Linked DNA regions of Homo sapiens: region 2 is linked to region 1. Evidence: promoter capture Hi-C in 16 types of primary human blood cells and fetal thymus (Javierre and others, 2016). All regions are on one chromosome and are shown on one strand. Each heading gives the region's core, a stretch centred on a gene start or on the middle of the fragment in contact. The rest is flanking DNA. Distances are from core to core; before and after follow the strand shown. Region 1 holds the start of HACD4 (3-hydroxyacyl-CoA dehydratase 4). Region 2 has its middle 150 kb from the start of SLC24A2.

Evidence for each region. Contacts are between HindIII fragments. The CHiCAGO score rates a contact against its expected background, and 5 or more counts as called.
Region 2: a contact is called between a fragment that was not itself captured here and the fragment with the promoter of HACD4 in region 1, in 7 of 17 cell types (monocytes, M1 macrophages, activated CD4 T cells and 4 more). The highest score is 7.5, in monocytes.

The regions. Positions count from the first base shown.
Region 1 is chr9:21,028,208-21,035,272 of GRCh38, forward strand. HACD4 (3-hydroxyacyl-CoA dehydratase 4) reads right to left here and starts at 3,433. Exons shown (of 7, transcript NM_001010915.5): 1 at 3,346-3,433; 2 at 1,088-1,191. The coding sequence starts at 3,383. It overlaps LOC105375989 (a long non-coding RNA gene), which reads left to right and starts at 3,435. Exons shown (of 3, transcript XR_007061435.1): 1 at 3,435-3,793; 2 at 4,265-4,444; 3 at 5,156-5,712. RefSeq lists a silencer at 3,209-3,568 and an enhancer at 3,212-3,772. The HindIII fragment of the contact is 3,612 bases long and covers 203-3,814 here.
Region 2 is chr9:19,930,761-19,937,825 of GRCh38, forward strand. It overlaps a transcript of SLC24A2 not described here. Among named protein-coding and RNA genes, the nearest start is that of SLC24A2, 150 kb to the left of the region's middle. The HindIII fragment of the contact is 3,650 bases long and covers 1,507-5,156 here.

The DNA.
Region 1 (7,065 bases), core at 2,183-4,682:
GCAACTTTTCTCACTGGAAAGGTGAGACAGCATAAGCCAGTCCATGGCTTGTGTTGCCAATGACATGTAATATGCCTGCACTGCCTCAGCAAACCTCAAAGGGCTAGAAGTGATGGCTTTTTAATAAAAATATAAAAGAAGTTTTCCCATCACCTGTGTTTTCCTGTGCTTGAAAACTCTCAACATTTGTAGTTGAAACTCAAGCTTTAGGTTATATCTTTGGAGGTCCTTAACAAAGGCGAGACTATATCTGTAGATTTTCAGTAAGAAAAAGCAACATAAAATAGCTTATGGGACCCTGCAAGTAGAATAACTTCCTTATGATACACACGTCTGAAATGATGAGCACAGCATGACTTTTCCCAGCTACATTCTAAACATTTGTTTTTAGCTGAAGCCAGCAGTTGCTTAGATTGTCAAGTCACTCAACAGTTGTAAACTGTGAGGACACTTACCCACGTGCGGATGGAACATGAAGAGAATGTTATTTTGATAGTCATTTAGTCACCCAACAGTGACTTTACTTTTCAGGAAACTAGAGGAAGTTTATGACTTAAACCATTAATGCTGACTCCTATATAAGTGGTTAGCCCTCTACAAAGTGTGTCATTTACATATTACTTCTTAAAGGGACCAAATAGAGGCTTGGGGAATATAAAATTTGTATTTCACTTACTAGTAGTCTCCAGTTACCTCAAACCTGGGGAATAATACAAACACTGGAAGAATTTGATTCATTCCTGATTTCTCTGCATAAAATGTTATGCTGAGATTTCCTCAAAACACTAGAAATCTGCTAAGGTTTGGTACAGAATGGAAAAGGAACAATGAAATGATACCACCTCAGTGCCATCCATCTCTTTTTTGAGGCAAACTGCCAACTCAGGGGGAAGCCAAATCCCTTTCCCTTACTTATCCCACCTTCCCCCTTCCCCAAGAAGGTTTTGCAATAAACATGGTTGCTAAAAAATACAAATTTTAGAGAAGGATATTAGAAGGTTGAGGTGTGTAGAAATTTAATATAAGCAGGATGAGGTGAAAACAAGGATTAAAAGTTAAAAATAAAAAAACTGTTTCGGAGTTTTACCTTTTCCAAATGAAAAGAATCTGACTGTCATATTTGTAAATATCCAAGAGTGGCCACAGAACTGGATTAAGTAATAGATGAAAAGATACGCATTCTTCCTATACCTATAAATACAGGAAAATACCATTAAACACTTCTTTTATAATCATCCTTTCATCACTGTACACATGCCCTTTAATGTACTGGCCAACCTGAGAAAGCAAAAGAAAACTGTTTCATATCAGTCTTTTATCTGGTTACCCCCAAGTACATATCAGATTTTGAAGGGAGCCATAACCTACACTACCCGCTAAAGTAAATACAGATGCTTCTTCACTTATGATGAAGTTACGTCCTGGTACACCCCATCAGCTGAAAATATCATAAACTGAAAATATCATAAGTTGAAAATGCATGTAATACAACTGATCTACAGAACATCACAGCTTAGCCTAGTCTACCTTAAACTTGCTCAGAACACCTACATTAGCTTACAGTTGGGTGGAATCATCTGGCAACACAGTGCACTGTGGAGTACCGGTTGTTTACCTTCCTGATCATGCGGCCGACTGGGAGCTGCGGCCTGATGCCGCGGCCCAGCATCATGAAAGGATATCATACCTGCACATCGCTAGCCTGGGGAAAGATTAAAATCCAAAATTTGAAGTACGGTTTCTAATGAATACATATCATTTTCACACCATCACAAAGTTTAAAAAATTGTGAGTCATGGACCATCTGTATAGTGAGTTTGCTTAAAACCAAATATAGTGCTTTTTCAAAATCTGCTTTCATCTTTGATAAAGTTCTAACCTTGCTGCTCACCAAGGAATAAAAGAAACCACTGCGAAGGTGGCTTTGAATATTCTTTAAAAAAACAAAACAGGCTGGGCGCGGTGGCTCAGGCATGTAATCCCAGCACTTTGGGAGGCCAAGGCGGGTTGGATCACTTGAGGCCAGAAGTTCAAGACCAGCCTGGCCAACATGGCAACTTACAAAAAAAAAAAAAAAAAAGCCGGATGTGGTAACGTATGCCTGTAATCCCAGCTACCTAGCTGCTCAGGAGGCTGAGGCAGGACAATCACTTGAACCTGGGAGGTAGAGGCTGCAGTGAACCGAGACAGCGCCACTGCACTCCAGCCTGGGCGACAGATCAAAACTCTGTTCTCAAAAATAAATAAAAAATAAAAAACAAAACAACAACAACAACAAAAAATCCATGTGTGCAGAGTGGTTGACATGTCACTATGTGTTCCAGTAGCTCAGCTTGCTAAGTGCAGAACTTGAGACACAGTGTTTTAGTTCTGAAGGGGGGTAGGGATGGGAGTAATCCAAATGTTGGGTAATTCAGTAATTGGACACACCTGACTTTTGAACACATTATGTGATTGAGGTTAGTATTAACATCTTGCCACTGCCTATTAACATTTTGCAAGGGTAGATAGTTTCCTTCATCAGATACATATCGAAAGCAGTTTAGTTGCTCATACCAGAAGAGGGAAGTCAAGCTGGGTTTAACAATGTGTTGTGAGTTGCTGGGGAGATGACTAAGAGAAGATTGACAGATAGATGGTTTGAGGGAGTTAGGAAAAGCACTGTTTGAAATGTTCCCTGGGAGTTCAGAAGAGTGACGGGAGTGGCCCTGCCAGTGTGGTCAAGATTTACTCCTCCTTGAAGATGTGAAACCTCCTAGAAACAAGGAAAATAAGCTGGGAGGCAGAATGATTTTTATTTGGGGACATCCTCCCCTATAAAGGCAGGAACTGCTAAAGGGTTTGGGAAGAGGAAATCCTCCTTCAGCTTGTATCAGAATTACCTGGCTTGTGGGTTAAACATATACACCCCCAGGCCCTACCGCTATATGACTGAATCTGTTCCCCGCCGGAACTAGGCCCTGAAATCTATACGTGTGATAGGTGTTTCCACGGCTGTTACATCTAAAAATCACCCCGCAACTCTGCGTCTGAGAAAGTCAAGAGAAGGCTCCTGGGGGGAGGGAAGTACTGGCAGAGGGCTCACAAGGGCAGGGGTAGCCATGCAGCCTGTCCTTCCCATTCAACTGTAAAATGGAGAAAATAACAGAGCCTGCTTCCTAGGGTGGTCAAGAGGGGTAAGTTAGCAAATACCTGCATGAGCTCCAAGGGGTGCCTGGGCACGGTAGCGCTGCGCCTTGCTGGCGGGCGGGGGGTGCCGCCCGCCCGCCCGCCGCAGAGGGGAGCTCCCGCCTCCAGGCCCTCCACCCGCGCCCCCTCCCCTCGGGATTCGGCCGAGCGCCCTACCTGGGCTGCAGCCAGGCGGGCAGCGCCAAGGGCCCCATGGGCCGCCGCCGCCAGGGCTTCCAGCGCGGTCCAGGAAGGAGTACCGGGGAGGAGGCAGGGGCGGCCCCGCGGCTGGGCGCGGAAGGGCGGGGCCTCTCCACACTCAGCAGTTTACAAAAAGAAAAAGCCCGAGGTCGTGCGTTGGGGAAGAGATGAAAACGAAGTTCTCGAAGTTTCTGCAGCACTGCTAGAGCGCGTCAGGGCGCAAGGCTGGGAGGCGGCTCGCGTTCCCGGTGGGGTTACCAAACTCTGGTTACAGCTTCCTAATCTTTGTGTTGAGACCCCCTTGCAAGCCTTCTGGAAATTAATGCATCTGGGCGATTTCCGGGGCCTCCGAACTCGCTGAAGCCCATCCCCAAACCTCCCGAGATGAGTGGATTCCAGGGTGGGCTCTGCTCAATGCCCACCGGTGAGCCAGGTTCAGACACGAAGCTTGTGCCGGGCGCAGTGGCTAATGCCTATAATCCCAGCACTTTGGGAGGCCGAGGCGGGAGGATCTTTTGAGCCCAGGAGTTCGAGACCAGCCTGGGCAACATAGCGAAAACGCGTCTCTACTAAATGTACAAAAATTAGTCGGGCATGGTGACGCGGGCCTGTGGTCCCAGCTACTCCAGAGGCTGAGGTGGGAGGATCGCTTGAGCCTGGGAGGTCGAGGCTGCAATGAGCCAAGATCACGCGGCTACACTCCAGCCTGGGTAACAGAGCGAGATCCTGTCTCAAAAAATAAATAAAAATAAAACGAAGTTTGTAGCACACCTCCCCAACACTTTTTCAGCTAGGGGCCTGATTCCTCTTCTATCAGGCCTCCCTGCTCTCTAATCTCCCTTGGGTTCTCACTGGTGCCTGCAAATCTTTATTCACGTTGTGTTAATTTCTCTAGCCTATGCCCAGCACTGCTACAACCCCTTCGTGATCTCTCAGGCTTATGACATCACTGTCTCCGTACACAGATGACCCACCCTCCTGCTTTGCTAATAAGATCCAGCCCATCTTCAAGCTCCTCTGCCCAGAAAGGGAAACGTTAAAACAAAAACAGAAACATCTAAGAAGGCACTTGCAAGTAAGTGGGACAATGGCACCTGGTTTTGGAGTTGGAAGTTAGCGCCCCCATTTTTACCAAAAGGGAAGTTGAGGCATTAAAAAAATGTTAAGTCACTTGGCACAGGTCACACAATTGATAAAATGGCAGTATCAGAACTTCAAGGTTGGTGGGATTTCTTGTTTGTTTCCCATTAGGCCGTGGCTTCCTTTTTTCATAGTCCATTCCATTCACTATGCCTACCTCTCACCTCTACATTTCTCTGCACCTTCTCTCATACCCTGCCCTCAGTCGGAGGTTAACCCCAACTTTGTGTTTACCAGTCCCTTCTCAGACTCACTGCATCAGTAGTTAACCATCGCCTCTTCTTGCATCGTCATCCCCTCCTTTCCATTGGCTTTCACTGCACTTTAGGGACATAGACAACTCTCTCTTAGCATATAATTAAACATTGTATTCTTTCTGTTTCTCTCTCAATGGAATCTTCTAATAACTCCCTGCCTGCCTTCTCTGATCAGGTGCTTCTTTCATTTCCTACCATCTTCCTGTTCCATAATACCTTACAGTTTGACTCTCCTGACACTGCTCCGTCCGCGAGCATGTTAATTTTTCGCCGAATCCCTATCCTGTATCACCTTGCAGGATGATGCCCCACGGTCCTTGCTTTTACAGAACATTTGATCTAAAGGGTAAACTGGTGGCTAACCCATTATCAATGCTATCTCTGATCAGGTTAAGCAGCAAGAGAGAAAGTAAAGTCCCAGATGGCCTGCAGTGGGGCAGGAGGGAGAAGGTGGAAAGCCTGCCCAGAAGAATTGATCCTTTGTCACCAAACACAGCCCCTGCATCCACATCCTCATTGACAGGTCTGCTGCATTTTACCAGTTCTGTCTGTCTGCCATTTACCCCTGAAGTTCTACATATTCTACGTCTCTTGCCTTATGTCCCTTCTGTCTCTCTGGATGGGTCTTCTTCTCCTGCTGTATTTCCTCAAAAGTCTGCCCTTAGTCACCATCCATTTGTCACCATGTTATCCCTCAGCATAGACAACCACACATGGCTTTATCTCCATGTGGACAACTTTTGACTATTATTTTCAGCCCTTTCTTCTTTTATGAATACTATCTCTGGCCTTTGAGCAGCTTTTGGATATTTCCTCATGAAAGTCCTATTGTTTGGACTATCTTTGGAACGTCTTCCAATTCAACCTATTTAAAATAAGCATACTATCTCTCTTCCTAAATCATTATTTCCCACAGAAAGACCACCATTTTTCTAGCCACTTGATTTTAAATTGGGGAGTCATCATTAAGCACCCCATCCAATCAAATTCGATTGATCCCATCCTTTCCAGATCTCCTACTAATCAGTAGTGTTCTTTGTCCATTCCTTATTTTCCAGTACCTGGGTGAGGAGTAATTGGCCTCCCTCACATCCATTCTTTACATCATAACTCAGTTGACTTTCTGGAGCGTCTTGGGTTATATCTTTCTGCTGCACAAAAAGAGGCCCTTTTTAGTTGCCAAAAAAGAACAAGCCAATCAGTCGAAAAATAAAAAATCCTTTCAAATCAAGCAGTTAGCTGATTCTACGTTATTTCCCAAGGAAAGAGTACAAAAAGAGCTTAGGAGAGAACATTTTGTATGAAAAGTGAAATTCTCCCTTTCCCCTGGTCAGTTCCCAGTCCTGCCCACGTCCTGCCAGCATTATCAAGATGGCCTCCCCCAGCCTCCCTGCCTCCAATCTCTTTCCTCCTTCTACCCAGACTGCCATAGATTATTTAAGGATGGCAAAAATATTTCTTAAAACACAGTTCTGATGTAGCCATTCTCCTGGTCTAAATCTTTTGCTGACTCCCCGTTGCCTGCTACAGTATATCTCTTCTTGCCCCTAAACCTGTCACATGCTGACATCTCCTACCATCCTATCCCCTTACCAAAAATCACAGCAACCTGCTGTTCCATGACCACACCAGGCATTCTCTGGCCAATGTGCCTCTGTGAAAAATTTCCCGTCTACTTTTTCTATTCTACCTCCTCCCCTTATCACAGCCCAGTACTTACCTGTCAAAATTCTATTCATTCTTTAAAAGCCTTCCCAAAGATCCCCTCTGGGAGTCACATAGGCTAACGTATGTCTATGTTGGTATTTATCTTAGGGTATTGTTGTTGTCAAGGTACTTGACTATTTAACTAGATTATAGATTCTCAGAGGCTTCTCTCTCACTAACAGTGAGAATTTGACAACTTTTAACCTTTAAAAATGAAGTTTCTTTTGCCAAAAGCACACAGTTATTAGAAAGATCAAATAATAAAATTTATAGATGAAAATGGATAAAAGCCCCTAGTACAGTGCTTGGCATAGTAAGTATCCATAAATATGTTGGATGAATGAATTAAATCTAGTATGAGTTTTCTATTCCCAAAATTTTAACCCAAAACAAAACATTCAGTGATAGTTACATTACTGAAGTATGTATATTCAACTTTCAGTTATCCACTGGTACAGAAGAAGTCAGAGTCCAAGATAACAACTGAATTAATATATTCTAATCTTTAGAAGAAATTTTAAAATTATTCGAACATGTCAATTTTGTTTTCCTTGGGCAAATGCTTCAATTTGTTTTCATCCCAAAGAGCACC
Region 2 (7,065 bases), core at 2,082-4,581, 1.1 Mb before region 1:
TTCTCATTTGTAGCTAGGAAACAGGGTGCCAGAGACTTGCTGTAATTGTCCACATTCAGATAGCTAGAGAGTGATCAAGCTGGGATTTATATCCAAGTGTTCTGGTTCTTTTAGCCTGTGTTTATTTTAAAGATTAATAATGGGGGAAACTATTAATTTTACTGCATCCCACAATTGGTCAAGCATAGATTACTAAACCTTTGTGCTTCCATATAGGATTGGCATTAGCAGAATTCATTGACACTAGCAATGACCAATAGTGATTGAAACCTCCAAGAAAAGACATTAAATAATCATGATAACCATAGAATGTTACTTAAAAGGGTAGGAAGCAAAACCTCATTAAACAAAAATTAAAAACACTTAAGAATGACAATATCAATAGCTAAAATCAACACCAACAGATACAAGACCATCCTTCCAGCCAAGTAAGACAATCAAAAGGTGTGGAAGGTCAGGTTGCAGTCCTGATCAGTCAGGCATTCAAACTGGACTGATAATTATCAAAGTGGAAGTTCACAGAAAGAGTTATTATAATTGAGGAAGTAAAAAATCATGTAACTTCCACATTCAATACTGTAATTTAAAAATAGATTTTTTTCACAATAACCATATACAAAATAATGTATTTAACACATAAAACCAACAAGAGAAAACCCACAATTCTTTCTGATCACACAAAAATCTATTTAGAATGTTAAAATTATTATTTTTTCTCTATGCCTTTGTTGTTCTACTTAAAGTATACAAACATCATACTGACATAGATTACTTATTCACTTACCAAAAAGGAGATGTAGACAATAGAACATCTAAATTGACTGAAAAATCTACCAAGGCTTTTATATTTAAATCACAGGCAAAATGGTACATGTTATCTTCAAATTAGGGTGACTAAACATTTTGGTTTGCCCAGGACTGTCCCATATTTGGCATGGGAAGTCCCATGTCCACAACACCCCTCAGTTCCAGGCCAAACAAGACAGCTGGTCACCCTACCTCAAACAACAGCACAAACAACCAGAATAATTATGTTCTTTAAACTCTCACCTTATATACAATTTATAAATAATAACAATGAATTCATTGAATAAAGAAATAAAATATTGAGTTGGCTATTTTACATTATAGACTGAACTGGGTTTTTAATTTAATTTTATTTATTATTATTATTATTTTTAGTTTTGAGTCTTACTTTTTCCTCCCATGTAGAAAGAGAATTAGTTTTGTTAATTTAAAAAATCATCCATTATGCATCAGCCATCATGGTCAACAGCTGAAATTTCTCATGTATTCGCATACCACAATACGGTCCCATTAAACATGAGCGTATTGAAACAAACAAATACTAGAATAAATTCATGCAGTAAAACTCTAAAAAATAGTACCGAACCATAGGAGAAAAAGGAAACCATTTAAATAGTCAAAGTTGTAAGAAAAATATTTTTGTTCTGAAATGGTCTTGGTTTCTTTTTCTTAGGTGAGAGTGTGTTGGGTAGAGATGAAAGCTTGGGAAGGATCGTTAAAATTCCGGTAGATATTTTTTAACTGCCACTAATTCACTGCCGAATAATGTTATACAAATTATGTAGCCCAATGTTGTCTTACGTGGAGCTTCTTCAATATCATAGTGAAATTTAGCTGGTAGCAATATTATGAGCCTGAATTAATAATTTTAGGGGCCTGCTAATGAAGCAGCTGTAGCCAAAAAAACCAAGGTGGGGAAATATCTATTAAAATGACATCTTGCATTCCTTTATGGTTTATGGAAGTTTTCAATGTATGCTATGATTATTTCCATTTTATTGTATGGGTGACTCACGGTTATGAGAATTTACCTAAGTTCACTTCGTGGGTATGTGGAAGAAGAGGGCTAGAACTCAGAACTTCTGACTTCTAGTCTGGTGCTGTCTTTAGTTTTCAACTCTTGCCACTGTGTTTCAGACTTTGCAGGCCACTGTGAGTCTGACACCTACAATACCCTCTCTTTGAAAAAATATACATGTGCATAGGTCCTTTCCTATCAGTTATAAGGCCTGGGACAAGCGTACAAAGGGAGAGCCATACACCTTATGCCACAGGTTTTTCCTCATCTCACCCCGTCCTACTCTGTCCATAATACTCTCAGATTCCCCCGTCATCACTGGTTTCACCCTTTTAAGTCCTTCAAAGGAACCTAAGGCTGGAAGGCCAAGTTCAAATATAGAATTGTTGGACTCCTTGGAATTTTTCTCTGGAAAGTGGTGGCCTTCTCATCCTTGGCCTTCCCAGCCCTGGGGCAGGAGGTGGGGGCTGCGGGGAGGATGGACTTGGGGAAGAGGCTTGAGCTCTTTAGGTAGAAAATTCCCAGGTTCTAGGAGCAGAACCATGGGCCAAAAAAGGAGGAAGCAGGCTTATAGTGGGCACTTTGCTTGGACCTCTGGAACATCATGTCCTGTAGAGAGGGGCACAGCCAGAGTAAGGCATGCTAAGGTACCCCTCTTGCCTGATCTAAAAGCAACGGTACTTGCACACATACTCAAACAATTCTATATACAACTTCTGGGATTCACAGGTGTCCTGTAGCTCTTCCTTAGATCACAAGTTAAGAACTTCTGATATCATCACTTAAGAATAGCAGTAAATCCCACTTGTATTGCTCTTAATAAAGTATAAAATGCTTTCACACTCAAAAGCTCATAATCTCATTTATTTGATTCTTAGTTCCATTCATTCATTCATTCATTCATTCATCCATTCAATTCATTCATCTACTTGTCAAAGAACGCGCCGGGGGTGGGCTATCAACTGTACAGGTAAAAACAGATCCTTTCAAAAGATTCCACAGTTACCACAGGACCCAGCAATACTACTCCTACATACATATTAAAAAGAAATAAAACACATGTCTGTTTAAACACTTGTACATGCATCTTCGTAGCAGCATTACTTATAATAGCCAAAAAGTAGAAACAACCCAAATGTTCATCAACTGATGAATGGATAAACGAAATGTGGTATATCCATACAATGCAATATTGTTTCACAATACAAAGGAATAAAGTCCTGGTGCATGCGACCATGGGAATAACCTGAAAACTTTATCCTAAGTGAAAGATGCCAGGCACAAAAGCCACATGTAGTATGATTCCATTTATGTGAGATTCCCCAAACAGGCAAATCCATAGAGGCAGAAAGTAGATTAATGGTATGCTAGGGGTATGCAGGAAAGGAATAATGGGGGCGTGACTGCTAATGAGCAGAGGGCTTTCTTTTTTGGGGTGATGAAAATGTTCTGGACTTAGTTGTGATGGCTACTCAACCTCCTAAGTATACTGAAAACCACTGAATAGTACACTTTAAAAGGGCGAATTTTATAGTATCTGAATTATACCTTAATTTTAAAACAGATTTTCAGAGCAAACTAAAACAGATCTTGTTCTTGCTTTTATGACGCCTACAGCCTGGCTCTCTGAGAGGTCTCTGCACTTATTAGGGCAGTTTCCAAGACGGGGTGGCCGGGCCTCAAAGCAGGCCCATCATTTTATCCGTCCCCTTCCCAACAGGCCAGTGAAGGATTTGGCAGGAAGCAAACAGGTGGCTTCATGTCTCAGCGTCGGTTTTCCAAAGCGGCCTCCATGGGCCGAGACACATGCCCTGCACCGGTGTGAGAGTGTATCCCGGACCCCCGCGCACCCCCGGGCTCCCGCGCACCACAAGGACCCCAAGCAAATCCTGGCCCCCATTGCAGCTCCCAGGTCCCCGCGCACCCCCGTTCCGGCCCCCGTGCACCGTGCGCGCCCATGGCGGGGCTCCGGAGCCTCCTGCGCTGCCTGCCAGGCAGCGTGCACAGCAGAGGCCAAACAGGCAGCCAGCACCTCCTGCCTCATTTAAGTGGTAATTTCCTTTGGGGGTTTCATTCAAGTGCAGCCCTGGGAAAATCGCGGCGAAGAGCTTTCCGAGAGGAAACGTTCCCTACGCTTCCCGGAGAGTTGTAAAGCTCGGGAACTTTCTCTTTTGCTGGTCGCCAGCCTCTACAGAGTAACGAACCGAGCGGGGCGTGGCGGGGAGGGCAAGCGTGGCGAGTCCGTTTCTGTCTTCTCCTCCAGGGAAAGGAGGAGCGGTGAGTGGTGGAAGAGAAAGATTTTAAATTGGAGTTTTGGAGGCGGGAGAGCTGGCAGGGGTCTCATGGCCTTGAGATATGGGCGTCTTGGCGCCTCTGGAACTTTGTTTTCCTCGTGGGAAAGGAGGAATCGATTTCTTTCTGTGGGGGCCCACTACCACTTATTTTTATTTTATTTATTTATTTTATTTTATTTTATTTTATATTTTGGTGCTGTTGTTGGTTCTCCCTTTAGTCACGGGGCAGGATGGGTGGAAAATATTTCTCAATATTGTGCCTGCGTTTGCATCACTTGGGTTGCTTGTGAAAAATAGATCCCCCAGCTTCCAGCCTGACCTACTATATTGGAAATCGGGATTGGGGGGTGGGGTGTGTGTGTTAAAGACAGGGGGGTTCTAGCATAAAAATGTATATTTTTTAACAACTTTGCTGGATGATTGTTAAGCATACTAAAGTTTAAGAGCCTCTGGTAGGCACAAAGTCCTTGCTGCTGAAGAGGATCTGAAAGAACTGAAACCAAAAAACAAAACAAATAAACAAACAAAACAAAAAAAACCCAGCACTTAAGAGCAGCAGGGTTGAAAGGGAGTGGGTAGATAATATAAACTAATGTCTTGTTTGAGAAAAATAAACAAAACAAAGCTGCCACCTGATTCCTCATTCAATCACCACCCTACTCATTCACCTGTCCTGGGGTGCAAGCTGAGTGGCTGCCTGATTAGCAGCCCTTGTGTGTGTCCTCAGGACGAGGCTTCTTGTCTGTCCAAAGCGTGGCTGGTGCTGAATGGCATAGGAGGGTAGGTTCCTTGGCTGCCACTGACGTTGCCTTTACCAGAGCTGTCAGGAATGCTCTTCTGCCAGGTCCCCCACGTGTCTGATGTGTGTCCTAGTGTGAGGAACTCATAGGGAAGGGAACCACCAAGTTAAAACATGGTGAGGTGTTCACTGAGATAGACCTGTAAACCTCATCCCACTGACTGAAGTCAACCCAATCCATTACCCTGAGCCCTCGAAGCAATCTCCACATGAGAAGCAACAGGAGACGAGGAGAAAAAGCTTCTCTAAAGGAAAGAAGGAAGATTTAATAAGTGCCTTAAAATATTTAGGAAGGACAAATTTTGAAACTTAAGGCTTTAATCACAAAGAGTTTTGAAAGAAATTCACTTGAGTATGAGGGTACATGTCTGCAACTTGTTCAAGCATCAGCTTAAGCTCAAATGTTAAATTTAACCATAAACGAGGCTGCCACCATAATAAACCTTAGAGCCCACCGTGATACCAGAGGCCTACTTAGCCTGTATTACCATCCTTTATATTTTTCGGGACTCCTTAACTATTTACTTTCGTATTCATCATGAAGACTTGCTGACCTCATTCTTCTTGAATTTGTGTTGTTAGTTATCTTCGATTTATTACTATTATTATTATTTGAGACACAGTCTCCTTCTGTTCCCAGGCTGGAGTAGGGTGACATGATCAGGGCTCACTGCAGCCTTGACCTCCCAGGCTCAAGCCATCCTCCTTCTTCAGCCTCCAGAGTAGCTGTGACTACAAGTGTACACCACCATGCTTGGCTAATTTTTGTATTTTTTGCAGAAACGAGGATTCATCATGTTGCCCAGGCTGTTCTCAAACTCGCGTGCTCAAGCGATCCACCTGCCTCAGCCTCCCAAAGTGCTAGGATTACAGGCGCTCAGCCTCTTCACTTTGTAAAATGAGACAACTTACAATAGTACAAACAATTAGAAAGCTGGAGTGGGAGCCTCTGATTAACAGGTTTATATATTATTTAAAGTTGCAATGGTATGAACTGTAGAAGAACTAAAAGTAATAATGCAAATATAAAACATTTGGAGGTGGAGGAGGAAACTTACATTAAATGAGCTAAATCCTCCCCTTTTCATATTAAGGTGTCTAGAGATATTATCTCAAGATGATAAATGGGGAAAAAGAGGTTAAGCCTCTTATCTAGATTTATGGAGGTAATTGCTAAAAGAACCAAAAACAAACAGTTAAAAGAGGTTGAATCTGGGGAGTGGGATGGGGTGGAGGCAGAGAGCAGAGAGGTAGAGGCTGCTGCTTTTCAGACCTTAAATTCTTCTGTCCTCACTCGTATGTTCCCACACATATGTATTACTTTAGTGGATTTTTTTTAAGCAAAAACCAAAAAGTCAGGAGAAAGGAAAATATGGTAGGAACATAAAATTGAGTCAAGAATTAGGCCTAAAAACACATACCGCATTGATTCACACATTTGCTGCAGCTGGGCCACACATTTGGCTCTGAGCTGTGCCAGAGCAATTATAGAGGGACCCCTGGTCAGTCCATGTATAATATCCACAAGATGAAAACAGACCAACTGGGAGAATTTTGGCTGCTCCTTGCTATTAAAATATCAGAATGAAATTTCTTCCAGGGGTCTTCCTAAAGAAGGCATGGAGAGATGATTAACATCCTCAACAATGTCTTTGAAATGTACAGAATAATGGTTTTCACGTTTTGTTTTTTCCCTTAGAATTCTCAACCCAGATTGCTGGTGTCACACTCAAGTGCAACTTAGATAAATAATTCCATGAGAACTCAGCTCCTTGCTTGATATAGGGATAGATTTTGGAATATCTTGAAAGATACATGCAGTTTTGTACTAGCAGAATTGTTACTTTTAACTTTAAAAATTTCAAATAGAATTTCTCTCAACTGAGCTATTGAAAATTATCAGCTGAAAATGAGTTTAAAACTATACTTTCTAATGAACACCCGGATTACAGCTAATCAATGTTGTCTGTTGAAATATATCTATGTATCCTAATAATTGAGAGACAGATATTTTGTTTATGATATTTGTGTCTATGCAAACGAAGTGCTATTATGAACACAACTATATTTACATATACACATTTCCTGTGCTTCTCTCTGGATAGCAAAGCTGTGTTCTAATGCTGTCTTCAGGATGTATATGGTTG